Linked DNA regions of Homo sapiens: all the other regions are linked to region 4. The links are contacts of gene promoters, found by promoter capture Hi-C in blood cells and fetal thymus (Javierre and others, 2016). All regions are on one chromosome and are shown on one strand. Each heading gives the region's core, a stretch centred on a gene start or on the middle of the fragment in contact. The rest is flanking DNA. Distances are from core to core; before and after follow the strand shown.

Region 1 (3,270 bases), core at 1-2,500, 320 kb after region 4:
TACTTATATTCACTGACCTGGAAATATGTTCGTGATATATTAAGTGGATGTGTAATACTCATTTTTTTATAAAAGGCCAATCAACATGTTTTAAAAACACAACAGAAGAACAGATGTCAAACCATATATTCTGTACAGACTAATACACTGTGGAATTATTTTCTTAAGCGTGATAATGGTCTCATTTCCATGTAGGAGAATATCCTGATTCTTGGGAGATGTATGCTGAAAGGGAAGAGTCTTTCTGCAGTCACCATCCCGACGCATTTCCAAAATATGGGTGTGTGTGTGTGTGTGTGTGTGTGTGTATAGAGAGAGAGAGGTGCATGTCTGCATATATACACATATATGGCGGGGAGGAAGGGAGAGACGTAGGACCAGAGGACAAACATAGTGAATGCTGGTAATTGTTGAAACTATTAAAGGGCATATGGAGTTCATTGTATTGGTTTTTAAACTTTTTCATAGGTTTAAATGTATTCAAAACGTGGAAAAACGTTATCTTCTGAATGCTAGGATTACTATGATTTTAGCAATATCAGGAATTGTCGGACTTGGTGTCTCTGTTTTTGATTCTTGCATCTAAGGACTTTGTGTGCCTACACCTGCAATGCTGATGTCAATGTTTGTGACAAAGCTTGTTCTACCACTGTGGTGAACACTGACCCCAGGGGCACTGTACTCGGTGCTGGCTTGTGCCACCTACTAGGGCTGCATGTGAGCACTGCTTCTACTTTATAACTTTGACTTTAATAGTCTGTCAACTTGGTAGCTATATCTCAGCTGAACCGTGTACCTGGTAGCAGACTAATAATACACTTCCAGCATGAGCACGCCCTTTGATCCAACTCTTCCACTTATGGGAACCTAGCCAAAGGAAAAAACAGCACATGTGCTGATACTAGCAAATCATTAGAGACAATCTCAAGGTCCAAAAATGGAGGCTTGACTTCAGAATCTTATGCAATCCATGAAAGTTGTACTGCAGAAATGTGTCAGCTAACAAGGAAAAAGATGGTCACAATATACAGTGAAATAAGCAAGTTAAATAATTGTATGGTATAGCTGGGCACGGTGGCTCATGCCTGTAATCCCAGCACTTTGGGACGCCCAGGCGGGTGGATCACTTGAGGTCAGGAGTTCGAGACCAGCTTGACCAACATGGTGAAACCCTGTCTCTACTAAAAATACAAAATTAGCCGGGTGTGGTGGCGTATGCCTGTAATCTGAGCTACTTGGGAGGCTGAGGCAGGAGAATCACTTGAACCTGGGAGGCAGAGGTTGCAGTGAGCCGAGATTGTGCCACTGCACTCCAGCCTGGGCAAAAAGAGTTAAACGCCATCTCAAAAAGAAAAAAGAAAGAAAGAAAAAAAAGAAAATTGTATGGTATGAGCAAACTCTATTTAAAAAATTACAATTATATCCACAGACTTGGAAGAACTTGCAATAAATGCTTAACTTTGGCTGTCTCTGGGTAGATGAAATTTTTGGTGTTTTGTTCTAATTGCTAATCTCTATTTTCTGACTCTTCTGTAATTACATGCATTGCCAAGCAATGAAAAAATAATACTAAAAGTAGTTAAGATAGCATGATACTTAATAAAGAAATCCAATTATGGCACTTCCTCATACTATATTATAATTTAAGCATGGGGTTGCAGCATACCTAAGTGTCTGATTCTTCTTATGTATCTACTTACAAGATGCAGCCTGCATTGTGGTCAAAACTTCACGTTCTGGTCTTGGGGGAGCTGGGTTACATCTCGGCTCTGCCACTAAGCTGAGTGACTTTAGCCAGCCTTCGCAGCCTCTAGATCTGTCTTCATCTGAGTAATGGGGATGGTAGTGATCATACTAAGCTTATGGCTTGGTTGCTGGTTACATAACACGTGGAAATACAGAATAAACTGCTTGGCATGGTGCCTAACAGTACTGTGTTCAATACATGGGGACCGTTACTACTCAATCAGATGTCCTAGGCTTTCTTCAGGGGCCAGCAGATGATGTGAACGCGAACAGGAACCCCTGCCGAAGCCCAAAGGACTCCTCCAGGCATTGACAGCTATGCTGTGCATCTTGCCTGGATGTTTTTTCAGAGGAGGGTGCAGGCAAGAGCAAAAGCAGCAGTCCCAGGCTATTCAACTTCCACAAAGCCTCCTTATCTCCGGTTGGGAAGTACAGTTGCTGATTAACTGTGTTAACACAGCACAGTGCTCAGAAGGCCAAAGGTCAAAGACTAAGGTCTGAAGCCCCACAAGGAGGAAATATCCCTCCTCGTCATTACTGGGGGGAAAAAAATTACCCTTGTAAGCCACTTAGAAGGGAGCACCTTTATTTGGAAAACAGTAATTTCAAAATCATCTCCCGAACTCAGAATCGATGGGTCTGGGTAGATACCCTAAGTAAACAGGTGAAATCTTCATTACTTGTTCACTTATTAAGTAAAATTTTAAATTAACCGATTATGTACAGGAGTGTTTTTCACATTTCCTGATAAGAATCACTTGGAATGCCCTGTAAACACAGCTTCACTGGAGATTAATCCTATCAAATTGATTCAGCAAGTCCGAGATGGGCCAGTAATTTGTGGAGATTTTTATTTTTACAAATGCTTCCTGATGATGACCAAATCTAAGAAAATTTGGTAAACAACGGAAAGTTATCTGGAACATAACTTTCAGTTTTCTCTGCAGTTTTTAAGTGCTGAACTACTGATCATCCTAGAGATAACCCACTGAAAAGTCTTCTCTAATCCAGTTTTACAAAAGGAAAGTCTTTTTAACATTTGGTTTGATAAAATGTTTTCCGAAGAAATACTTTACTTGCCTGTTTTCATTTCTGGCCCACCCGTTCTACTTCACGTTTTCTTGAAGGGTTCATCTTCTATGAGTTGAGGCATAGCAATCTAATCATTTTTAAAATAAATGGTTTCTTTTTTTTTTTTTTTTTTTGAGACGGAGTCTCGCTGTTGCCCAGGAGTACAGTGGCGCAATCTCAGCTCACTGTAAGCTCCGCCTCCCGGGTTCAATTGATTCTCCTGCCTCAGCCTCCAGAGTAGCTGGGACTACAGGCGCCCGCCACCACGCCCGGCTAATTTTTTGTATTTTTAGTAGAGACGGGGTTTCACCCTGTTAGCCAAGATGGTCTGGATCTCCTGACGTCGTGAGCCGCCCGCCTCGGCCTCCCAAAGTGCTGCGATTACAGGCGTGAGCCACCGCGTCCGGCCAATAAATGGTTTCTAATTAAAGGATTGTGACATTTAATAGCCGT
Region 2 (3,385 bases), core at 844-3,343, 360 kb before region 4:
GTTAAGAGCCTTGCCAGGCATCCAGCTAGCAGCTGCCAAGGGAACCTGAAACTGGAGCTCCAGGGCCTGCCTCTGTGGTGGGCTCCACAGATGACTGATGACCAGTGACAGGTCTAGGAAGGACCCAGATCTCCTTCTCCTTGGTCTCCCAGCACCGGGCAGGACCCCAGGGTGGAGTGGACTCTGGGGTGGGGATGGCCAGGGACACACATCTCTCTCCTCCCTCACAGCTACGTCCCCCCTGGCGTGAAACCACAAGTCACGAGCCCCTGGCCTGTCACTGCTACAGCAGCGGGGATTTCCAGGAACTGGGGGAGGGGCTTTGAGAAACTCAGGTCAGAGACCCCAACAGAAGCCGTAGAGAAATGTAGGGTGGGCTTCTGCAGGAGGGACCAGCAGCATTTTGCAGAGACCCCGGCAAGGGTAGGGGAGGATGGGGATAAAGAGACAAGGAATAAAGTCCCAAGAGTGACTGGGGAGATCAACTTCTCCGGAAGAAGCCATCACAAAGGGCTGGGGGGCAGCCTCATCTGCAGATGACAGTGTCCCTGCAGGCACCTGCTCCTGGAGACAGCTATCCTTCTGAGTTGCCCTGAGGACACACCCAGAGGGGCACAATGCTGGGAGATGGCACTGGGCACTCTTGACCTGCTTCCAGGAGAGCCATGTGTGGCCCCAGCAGGGCCGGAGGAAATGGGCCAAGAACACAGGTGTACCATCAGGGGTATGACCAAAGGTGCTTTATTTTCTTATCATTAAAAGTTAAGGCTTAAACAATGATACAGTGAAGTTTTTTGTTTTTTGTTTTTTGTTTTTGAGATGGAGTCTCACTCTGTCACCCAGGCTGGATTGCAGTGGCGCAATCTCAGCTCACCGCAAGCTCTGCCTCCCATGTTTAAATAAAATAAAATGCCAGAGGTAAAGACAACGTGGTGCAAGTAGGACTCGGCACCGTACAAGCTGCTTGGTGCAAGGAGGCTCCCCAAAGTCGAGGGCGGCAGGGGAGGTGGAGCCCTGAGCTGCTCCCGCTGGACAGCAGGCACTGAGGGGGCAAGAGGTTGGAGGCAGACGACTGCAATGACCCCAAGGACAGGGCAGCTCCCCCTTCTCGCTCACCCCAAGCTTTCAGGGTTGATGGAAAAGGGCCTGAGTGGGCCCTCCTCTTTGAGGACCCAGTGGGGTGGGCAGGGAGTCCAGCCGGCCCTGACCACTAGGCAGCAGTGTTCGGCGTTTCTTCTGCAGGCAGGTGGGCAGGTGGAGGACCCCATTGGCTCACAGGTGCTATAGTAGCCATTGGGTTTTTTTGGACACAAACTTCCAAATGACCAGGGCCGGGGGCTGCACCTGCACCACGACCAGGTTTTTCAGAACGGGTGTCAGATAAACGCTCAGCCCTAGGCAGCCTGGACCCCATGTCTGGTTTCAGGGTGCACCCTGAAGGCCAACACGGCCTCCTCACACTCCACCCAGGGGGTCAGGGCTCACCGCCGCAGCCCTTGCCCGCCTCAGACCCTGATCCATTCATTCAGTTCCCTGAGCACCTACTATTGTGCCAGGTGCTGAGTGAGGCCCCTGCCAGACAAAGACAAGTTAGAGTCCCTACCCTCAAGACCTGGCAGCCTACCAGGGAGCAGTAGCGTCCCCAACGGTACAGCCAATGCCGCACCAGAAGTGTGGTTCCTAGAAGCAGGGGGGACAAGGGAAGGAGGTGCTGGGACTAGCTCGGTGGGTCGCAGAAGAGGTGATCTCTGAATTAGGACTTGAAAGATGAAGAGAGGGCATAGAGCAGGGGAGAAACATGATCCAGTCTGTATTTAAGTAAGTCACAGACTGGTCGGGCACATGGCTCACACCTGTAATCCCAGCACTTTGTGAGGCCAAAGTGGGCGGATCACCTATGGTCAGGAGTTGGAGACCAGCCTGGCCGACATGGTGAAATCCCGTCTGTACTAAAAATGCAAAAATTAGCCGGGTGTGGTGGCGGGTGCCTGTAATCCCAGCTACTAGGGAGGCTGAGGCAGGATAATCGCTTGAACCCGGGACGGGGAGGTTGCAGTGAGCAGAGATCATGCCACTGCACTCCAGCCTGGGTGACAGAGCAAGACTCCATCTCAAAAAAACAAAAACATGAAAATGAAACCCAAAGTCATAAGATAGAGAGGCATGGGGAGCAGCTGCTTGCTGGGGCCAGGTTTTCCTTTAGGAGTGGGGAAATGCCATGGAACTGGAGGTGGTGGTTCCACAACATGCTCATTCATGCAACCACCACCTCTGTCTGGGGTCGTTCAAATGGTTGGATAGTATGTCAATTTCACTTCAATTTTTTTAAAAGAAAAATGAAACAGTTTCATGGCAGGCTAGAGGGAAGACTGTGCCCTGGACACCTGCCACAGACTAGGCCCGGAAAGCAGCCTGAGGGAAGGCTGCTGGTAGAGGCGGCAGGAAGGGAGGGGGCGGCACTGCCTGGCCAAGCTCTGGGCAGACACCAGCCCCACAGTGAGCTGGCCTGCAGGAGGAAGCAGCCCTGCGCCCCACCTCCCAGGCCAGAGCGCTCTGCACGCCCCGCTCAGGGACAATCTTGCCCAATTCTGGCCTGAGTGTGTGTCCTAATGTCAAGCACAAGACAGTCCGAGCACTTACAGTAAGTGCAAGAGTTACTGCAGGGAGCGTGGCGGGTGTGGGAAGGGGGTGTCCCGCCACCACAGGCCCCAGGAGCACACCTGGAGAATCTCTGATCACCCTGGACGCACAGCAGCAGCGCACACCAACCCACAGGGGCTTCAGTTCATTCTGCAGTGCTAGGCACTCCTGCCCCTTGAGACTGACAGTCTTTAGGACAGGGGGTGGGGAGACCAGCCAACACCTGTCTCAGGTGCTGTGAAGCTAGAACGCGGACCCGGCCTCAGCGGGGAGCTCAGGGAAATCCTGGGAGGGACACTAGGGCCCAGGCATGAGGAGTGGCAAATAGCACGCGCAAAGGCCGGGAAACAGAGGCTTTCAGTTCAGAGGAACTGAAAGAAACCTGGTGCCAGAGAGCCTGTGGCTGTGTTGGGGGCCAAGCTTCCTGCCAGGCTAGCAGACCAGGAGGCCTCTCAGACCCGGGACAGGTGCTGCCCCAACAGTCCCCTGAAGGTACTGAAGGAAGGTGTTCAGAGGAGCAAAGAAAGAGGGCTTGGCAGGAAGGGGCCACCCCCGTGGCCAGTCTGGGGAAGAGGAACCCAGGAGCATAGAGTGGGCAGAGGCAGCTCACGTGACGGCAGGCAGAGGCTCCACAGCAGCTGCAGGGAGGGCCCCCAGCAGCCTCGGTCTCACTGGAGGAACTGGACAGGGAGGGGGCATCTGTGCAGGGCTCAAAAGAAAAAAGGCATTCTATTTTTCTTTGTAT
Region 3 (3,280 bases), core at 2-2,501, 310 kb before region 4:
AGGTGACTGCGGGCGACGCCGGGATTTTGGTTTGGGTAACTGGGTAGATGGGGGCGCCATTATCGCGCTTCTCTTGCAGGGGGCCGGTGAAGGTTATACGAGAGGCTCCATCTGTCCTTATTGAAAGTGCTCTTAACGCAGGGACCAGCCGTCTTGCTGACGCCTGGGCCACCGAGCACAGGGACAGGACGGGGTTGCTGGAGGTGAGGATTCCGCGTGTCAGGGGCGGGGATGAAGGAGGAGAAAGTGTTCACTTTTGGACATGTGACGTGATAGCACTGGGCAGAGGGGAGGAAGCTCAGACCTTGGAGCAGTGGGCCAGGCGAGGTGGCCCCTGGTGGGGCAGGGGACGGGTAGGGACAGATCACGGGGCCCACGCAATGGCCAGGGAGGTGGAGGAGCAGTAGGACAGTGTCACAGAGGCAACAGGAGGCTGTCACGGGAGGGAGTGGGTCACAGGCCAAGTGCTGCTGAGGCCTCGGCGGTGTACACAGCACAGCAGGGGGGCGGGGGTACAGGGCCTTCGGTGATGCGGGGGACACCTGAGGGAGGAAGTGAGGAAGGCAGCAGGGCCCCATGTAGTTGGTGTTAACAAGAATAAACAATTAGGGGGCAAGAAATCCCAGGCGGTAGCTGAAAGAAAAACAGAGCCTGGGGTTGCTGTTTAAAGATGGGACAGGTGAGTCCATTCCATAGTCGTTAATGGGAAGGTGCCATCGCAGAGGGGAAGGAGGGCACAAAGGGAGTTGTCAGGGAGGTTGGGACCCAGGCAGCTCTGGCCCAGCGCTCCGGGTGGGCCCCTCCATCAGCGGTGGGGGAGGGTGACGGTGGCCCTGCCTCCCTGGAGATTCTCTGTGAAGGAGGAGGCAGGGAAATGCTCAGTCAGCAGGTGGGTGATGCAGGAACCCACCCACCACAGGCAGGCGGGGCCAGGTCCCCCTGGAGTGGTTTCCTCCTTCAGGTGCAAGCTGGGAGAAAGCAGAGAACTGACTCCATGCAGAGTTGGGATTAAGAGCCCCTGGACAAGGGGCCGAGGCAGTGAAGGACGTCCATCACTCATCTGCCACTATCCTCCTCACATTTAATCCTCACAACACCCCTGTGAGGTAGGTATCATTGCCCCCCTTACAGATGAGGAAACTGAGGCTCACACATGCCCAGGGGCACACAGTCGACAGGACGGGTCTACAGTTCCAACGCTTGGGTTCTCACCCCGACCACACCCCACCCAGGGTGGCCAGAATTCCCTTATAGTAGCAAAAAGACAGCTGCCGCGGACATGAACACACATAGCACCAGCACACATAAAAGCAGCAGCTCAGTGAGCATCTCCCATCCCTGGGTTTCCGGTTCAAGAGCATTTGGGGGCCAGGCGCCGTGGCTCATGCCTGTAATCCCAGCACTTTGGGAGACCGAAGTGGGCGGATCACTTGAGGTCATGAGTTCGAGACTAGCCTGGCCAACATGGTGAAATCCCGTCTCTACCGAAAATACAAAAATTAGCTGGGCGTGGTTGGGTGCTTGTAATCCCAGCTACCCAGGAGGCTGAGGCAGGAGTATCCGGGAGGCGGAGGTTACAGTGAGTTGAGAGTTGAGATCATGCCACTGCACTCCAGCCGGGGAGACAAGAGCAAAACTGTCTCCAAAAAAAAAAAAAAAAAAGCATCTGGGGGACACTTCTGGCCAAGTGGTTCTTTCTTACATTTGCAGAGTAAACAGAAGTGGATGGCAGCAGGGTGTGTTGTGGTCAGCCCGTTCCCAGGGAGAGGCCATGGTCACATGGCCCCAGGCAGGCTCCCCAGGCGTGGGCTGCTGGCTCCCAGGCTCCCTTTCCATGCAGGAGCAGAGTCTCCGTGGCCAGCAGGAAAGCCCAGGGGTCTGCCTCCCTCCCACGGGCCCCCACAGCAGAGCTGCAGTTGGGATCAGCCAGGACACGGCCCCCGACTGCTCTGCTCTTCTGCCTCTTGGTCACCTCAGATGTTACAGAGGACTTGAAGTTTTTTCTGGCTAGCCTATCTGGGAAAATTCTTTTTGCATAAAGTGTGTCAGGATGGCATTGAGGGGCTGGAGTAAGATTTTTGTTTTGCAGGTGAACCTAAATAATGGTGGGAATCTCTTGTTTTTTTAATACCTTCTGTTTTAAGTTTTTCTTTTGTTTTCATCTTGGAAGAAGGAAATTTAGAAATAAGACAGGAAAAGAATGGCCCAGAAATTCAGCACAAAGAGAGGTGTTCACATTGACGCCATCTGTGGGTCACATACGAACGCCTCTGGGACAGAGCTCTAAAACGAGTCACGTGTCGTAGGGAGTGGGCCTGTGGCCAAGGCAGTCCTCGCAGTGTGCAGGGACGCAGGCCCCCTTACCATGGAAGCCCCACCCAGAAGGAAGTGGGTGCCCCATGCAGGCCGAGGTGGATGAGGGGACAGTGGTGTGCTCACAGCTGTCAGCTCCCCACTGAAGCCCCAAACCAGCAGATGTGGGCAGGGGCTCAAGTGGTGTCTGACTACCCAGGTCACACGTGCCTTAAGCGTGAAAGCTGTCAGCTCCCGGCACGGGGCTCTGGTGGGGCTGGGAACACCAGGACACACATGGGCTGAAGCTTCCAGAGACAGTGAGACACGGAAGGGACAGAGAGGTGCCCTCCACACAGTGTGGCCAACTGCTTCCAGGCTAAACTTTCCAAAGAGAGGGATCTGAGCTCTTCACCCTCATTTCAACATTCTGATGGCTTGCACGGGACTCCCGCGGAGACAGAAACTTGGTGGCCGCAAGTCATCCTCTCTGCTCTCTGCGCAAAGGCCTCCATGGTCTATGCAGCGTTCCTATGCTATGCTCCCACCCTTCGCCTCCAGCCCCCTCAGTACACATCCACTGCGGCAAATGTGCTGACACACTTACAGCCTCACAAGGCCCAGGTTCATGTCCTCCTCCTCACTGTGTATGCATAGGTTTATCCGCTTCACCTGTTGCTGGGGAACACTGCTCTCCGGGGGACTTGGGGGACGACACTGTAAACATGACTTCCTGGCCTGATGGTGGCAGGGCTGTGTGTGCGAGTCACTGTCCAGGGACAGCACTGAGGTAGGTTGGGGCAGGGCCCCCAAGCCACCGTCCACGGAGCTTGTGGGACTTGCGGTGCTGACGGAGGAGTACCCTGAGGTCGTGACGTCCTTCCCTGGCTCCCGGCTGGTGCGGACCAGGGGTTTGGGTCCAGGGGTTGCAGGGATCTGGGTGTCCAGCGCCAGTGCCTGTGGGTCCTGGGGTCCCTTGTCCTCTGGA
Region 4 (3,428 bases), core at 766-3,265:
GACTTGGAACCCCCAGACTGGAGGGAGCCCCTTTTCCTGTCCCTGGAACAGCCCTTCCTCCATCCTCCCTCTAACTGGCTCTAATTAAAGGGTGAGAAAAATGCAAATTTAAGATTTGCTGAGGACAAGCCGGCACCTCAGCACGAGGAATTCCAGCTGGTGGGGGTGGGGGTGGGCGCTCCTCACCCAAGAGCAGGGTCCTCTCCCCTAGGCAAGCCCTGGAAACCCTCGCTCAGGCTCTGCAGGGAGCATGTGCTTCTAGGGCCCAGTAAGGCCTCTGTACCGAGGCAGCACTGCTGGCCCCAAGTGGACGTGGCCCTTGACTTCCTCTGACCCACCACCCTGTAGGCAACAGTGTCCGCCTCCCCCAAGGCACAGGATATGGTCCCTCGGTAATGCCAGCCCCTGGCATAGGGCAACTAACTATGCTTGTCGGGTGCAGCCACCAGCCCAGGTGTTGGAAGGTCGAGGCAGGCAGCTTCTGGGGTCCAGGCCTCGAGCCTGTTGGTACCATGGGGATCAGAGAGAACTTGCTGCTCGGGTACCGGCGGGACTCTGATGTGGGGCCAGGCCAGGGCCTCCACTCACCCGGAAGTCAATGCCTACGGTGGAGATGAAGGTCCCCGCCAGGAAAGCACCATCCTTGAATCGCACCAGCAGACAGGTCTTCCCCACACCCGAGTCCCCCACCAGCATGACCTAGGACAAGCAGGAGGGTTGGGGGGAGTCTGGTCTGCCCTGAGCTGGCCTGGTCAGAAGGGGGCTGCAGGTGAGGAGCAGGAGTGGAGGGAGGCAGCCCAGGCCTGCAGGCTCAGCGGGGCCAGGGACCCCGATGGGCTGGACACCCAGCGTATGCCTCTGAAAGGCTGGGGCTGCTCTGTCCTTCTGCACAGTGGCCGTCTCAGTCAGCGGGGAGTGAGGGCAGCCACCTGCATCCCGGACCCTCCCTAACGTCCATACCCCCACACGGTGGACAGCATCTGGGAGGGGAGCAGGTGGGGTGGCAGCTGGGTACCTCCTAAGAGACTTGGGGAGGCCTCTGCCGGGGGCTTCTCCACATCCCAGTAGGGACATGACCCCAGCAAGGCTCGAGGAATTTGCCCCATTAGGATCAGATCTCGATCTGAAGAGGGACCTGGGCCAAGTCTGAGGTTGGGGGGAGGTGCAAGTGGGCAGCAGTCAGGCCTTCTCCCCGAAACCTGTGCTACCAAACCCAAAATGGTCCTCCCAGCCCCCTGCCAAGTCCACACAGCCTCTGCCTTGGTCTGGAGTCCCAGGGTTCCCCATCCATCTGGCAAACCTCTTCCCCCCAGCAAAAAAAAAAAAAAAAAAAAAAGGCCCACAGCCGCTGGGTTGAGGGAGGGCAGCATACGGGAAATGGTGAGACCCCGGGCGGGGGCCAGGGCACTGGGGCGCGGGACCCCTTGTGCCACCATGCCGCCTGGGGGGTGGGGGACAGGCCCTGCCAGCTGTTGGATACCCCAGACCTGGGATGGACAGCTGTGTGTGCACGATGCACCGTGCAAGCCCCACGGGGTTCCTCCCGCGTCGGCTCCGCGCCCTGGGGCCGCGGGCCCTGCACCCCCTGTCCGACCCCCAACCCTTGGCTCAGGCCGGGCGCCACCTGCTGCGCTGGCCTGGGGGGCGGGTGCCTGGCTCACCTTGAAGGCGACGTCGTAGAAGTCGACACCGCCGCCAAGCGAGGGCCGGCCGGGCTGCAAGGGCCCGTTGGGCGGCGCGTCGGGGCCGGAAAGCGCAGTCCCGGAGCGCGCCGGTCGGGCCCCGTTGGCGGTGGGCAGCGTGGAGGCAGCGGGGGTGCTGGCCCCTTTGCTCTTGGGGGTCTTCTTCCTGGACATGGCGGGCGGGCGCTCAGTGTGCTCCCGCTGCAGCCGCCGTGCCCTGGGCCGTCCCGCACCCCGCGCCCGCCGAGCCCGACCCGGACCCGAACCCTTCCCCTGGCGGCGGCGGCGGCGGCGGCGGCGGCGGCGGCATCATCCCGGGCGCCCGGCTCGCGCCCCGCCCCCGCCGCTCCACGGGCGCGCAGCCACTCAGGCCCGGCCTCCCGCCGCCGCCGCCAATGCCGTGCGTGGGGCGGGGACATGCAAATACACCCCCGCTCGGCGGGGGGTGGGGGGCGGTCAGGAGGTCCGGGCCCCGTCCCGCCCCCGATCACGACCCCTGCCCGTGGCTGCCTTGGGGCCAGGAGCCAGCTGTGGGGTGACAGGCCTGGGCCAGGAGTCACCCCGGGATCCTGAATCCCCTCTGCTGGCTGCACACCACCCCAGCTCGGTGACCCCCAAACTGGACCGCCAGACCTGGGAGGAAGGGGTGTCCTGAGATGTGGGTGCTGGGGCAGAGGGCCCGCATGGACGGGCACCGCGGGCTTCTGTCTCCTTAGCCCCAGATGCCTAGCGCTTGGCCCGGTGCCCTTCACTGCTCCATCCCCTCCAGGGTAGGCGGGTCCAGGAAGCTCCAGCCCTGGCTTGGCAAACACACCAGGCTGCTGGGGCAGGCGCCCTGGGCTCAGGTGACAGCTGGTCACCGGGAGGACACAGCGGGCGCTGCGATCTCCCCCACAGCTTCTGCCTGCTGTGCACGCCTGGGGATCTGCGGGAAGGAGGAAGTCGCTGTGGCAGCCAGCCCCCGGCCCCCTGAGGGTCCCCTCCCACGGGACTCTGCCCTCAGGGTCTGAAAGGTGGAAAGCAGAGGCCCCTGCCCAGGCTGTGTGGCTGGCCCCTTGTCCTTCTCCTCCAGGTTCGGACCTTCAGGTGGCCAGGGCCGATTCTCCAAATCCTAAGCTGGTCCCTGGCAGACCCACCTCCCCAACCTGGGCTGCACTGGAGCTCTGTCACCCCCTCTCACAGAGAAGATGGGACTGCAGTGGTCAGAGCTGGGGCACAGTGGTCCAGAGGGGTGGTGTCCTTGGCATGCAGGGGCTTCTTGGTGTTTCTTTGGGAGCTGGAGAGATGACCCAGCTGTCCCCGGAGACCTGACAGCTGTCACCAGGACCTTGGGCCCTTCAGAGACCTGAGCCCTCCCAGCTGGCAGTGCCCAGAGTCCAAACAATTGGCTGCCTCTCGGGTCAGAGGCCTGAGAAAACACAGATGGGGGGCACTGCCCAGCAGAGTGATTCCTCGAGAGGGCCTGGCAGAGGCCGTGGAAGCCTGCCCTACAGCAAGCACTGTTGTGTGCCAGGCACACGACCTCTTCAAAGTTATCCTGCAAGGTGGGTACTGCCCTCAGTGTCCAGATGGGGAAACCGAGGCCCAGAAAGGCAAGGAGCCTGTGCAAGGTCAGCAGGCTAGGAAGGGCAGAGCTAGGATTTGTTCCTGTGATCTCCAGCTCCAGAGAACATAAACCGTCCCATGGCAGAAATCCCTGTAGACTTAATCCCCAGGAACCTGGCAGAGCTGGGGGTCAAACCCGGA

What was found. Contacts are between HindIII fragments. The CHiCAGO score rates a contact against its expected background, and 5 or more counts as called.
Region 1: a fragment that was not itself captured here is called in contact with the fragment with the promoter of RAB26 in region 4 in 2 of 17 cell types (erythroblasts and M0 macrophages); the score reaches 7.8 in erythroblasts.
Region 2: a fragment that was not itself captured here is called in contact with the fragment with the promoter of RAB26 in region 4 in 3 of 17 cell types (erythroblasts, M0 macrophages and fetal thymus); the score reaches 6.4 in erythroblasts.
Region 3: a contact is called between a fragment that was not itself captured here and the fragment with the promoter of RAB26 in region 4, in 5 of 17 cell types (fetal thymus, naive CD4 T cells, total CD8 T cells and 2 more). The highest score is 11.6, in fetal thymus.

Annotation. Positions count from the first base shown.
Region 1 is chr16:1,827,956-1,831,225 of GRCh38, reverse strand. It overlaps FAHD1 (fumarylacetoacetate hydrolase domain containing 1), which reads right to left. Exons shown (of 1, transcript NM_031208.4): 1 at 2,316-3,270. Among named protein-coding and RNA genes, the nearest start is that of FAHD1, 2.4 kb to the right of the region's middle. The HindIII fragment of the contact is 1,222 bases long and covers 640-1,861 here.
Region 2 is chr16:2,507,010-2,510,394 of GRCh38, reverse strand. No RefSeq gene overlaps it. Among named protein-coding and RNA genes, the nearest start is that of ATP6V0C, 5.2 kb to the left of the region's middle. RefSeq lists enhancers at 319-388, 449-558, 2,205-2,705, 2,706-3,206. The HindIII fragment of the contact is 1,938 bases long and covers 1,125-3,062 here.
Region 3 is chr16:2,456,636-2,459,915 of GRCh38, reverse strand. It overlaps CCNF (cyclin F), which reads right to left. Exons shown (of 17, transcript NM_001761.3): 17 at 1,062-3,280. The coding sequence ends at 2,896. LOC105371050 (a long non-coding RNA gene) reads left to right here. Exons shown (of 5, transcript NR_188689.1): 1 at 1-2; 2 at 80-203; 3 at 962-1,106; 4 at 2,950-3,082. Among named protein-coding and RNA genes, the nearest start is that of TEDC2, 1.8 kb to the left of the region's middle. RefSeq lists enhancers at 199-288, 519-1,333. The HindIII fragment of the contact is 2,703 bases long and covers 1-2,602 here.
Region 4 is chr16:2,147,212-2,150,639 of GRCh38, reverse strand. RAB26 (RAB26, member RAS oncogene family) reads right to left here and starts at 2,015. Exons shown (of 9, transcript NM_014353.5): 1 at 1,662-2,015; 2 at 589-699. The coding sequence starts at 1,856. RefSeq lists enhancers at 257-808, 809-1,360, 1,361-1,912, 1,913-2,462, 2,463-3,014 and 1 more and silencers at 1,455-1,524, 1,545-1,674, 1,685-1,854, 1,945-2,034, 2,045-2,314 and 1 more. The HindIII fragment of the contact is 14,976 bases long and covers 1-3,428 here.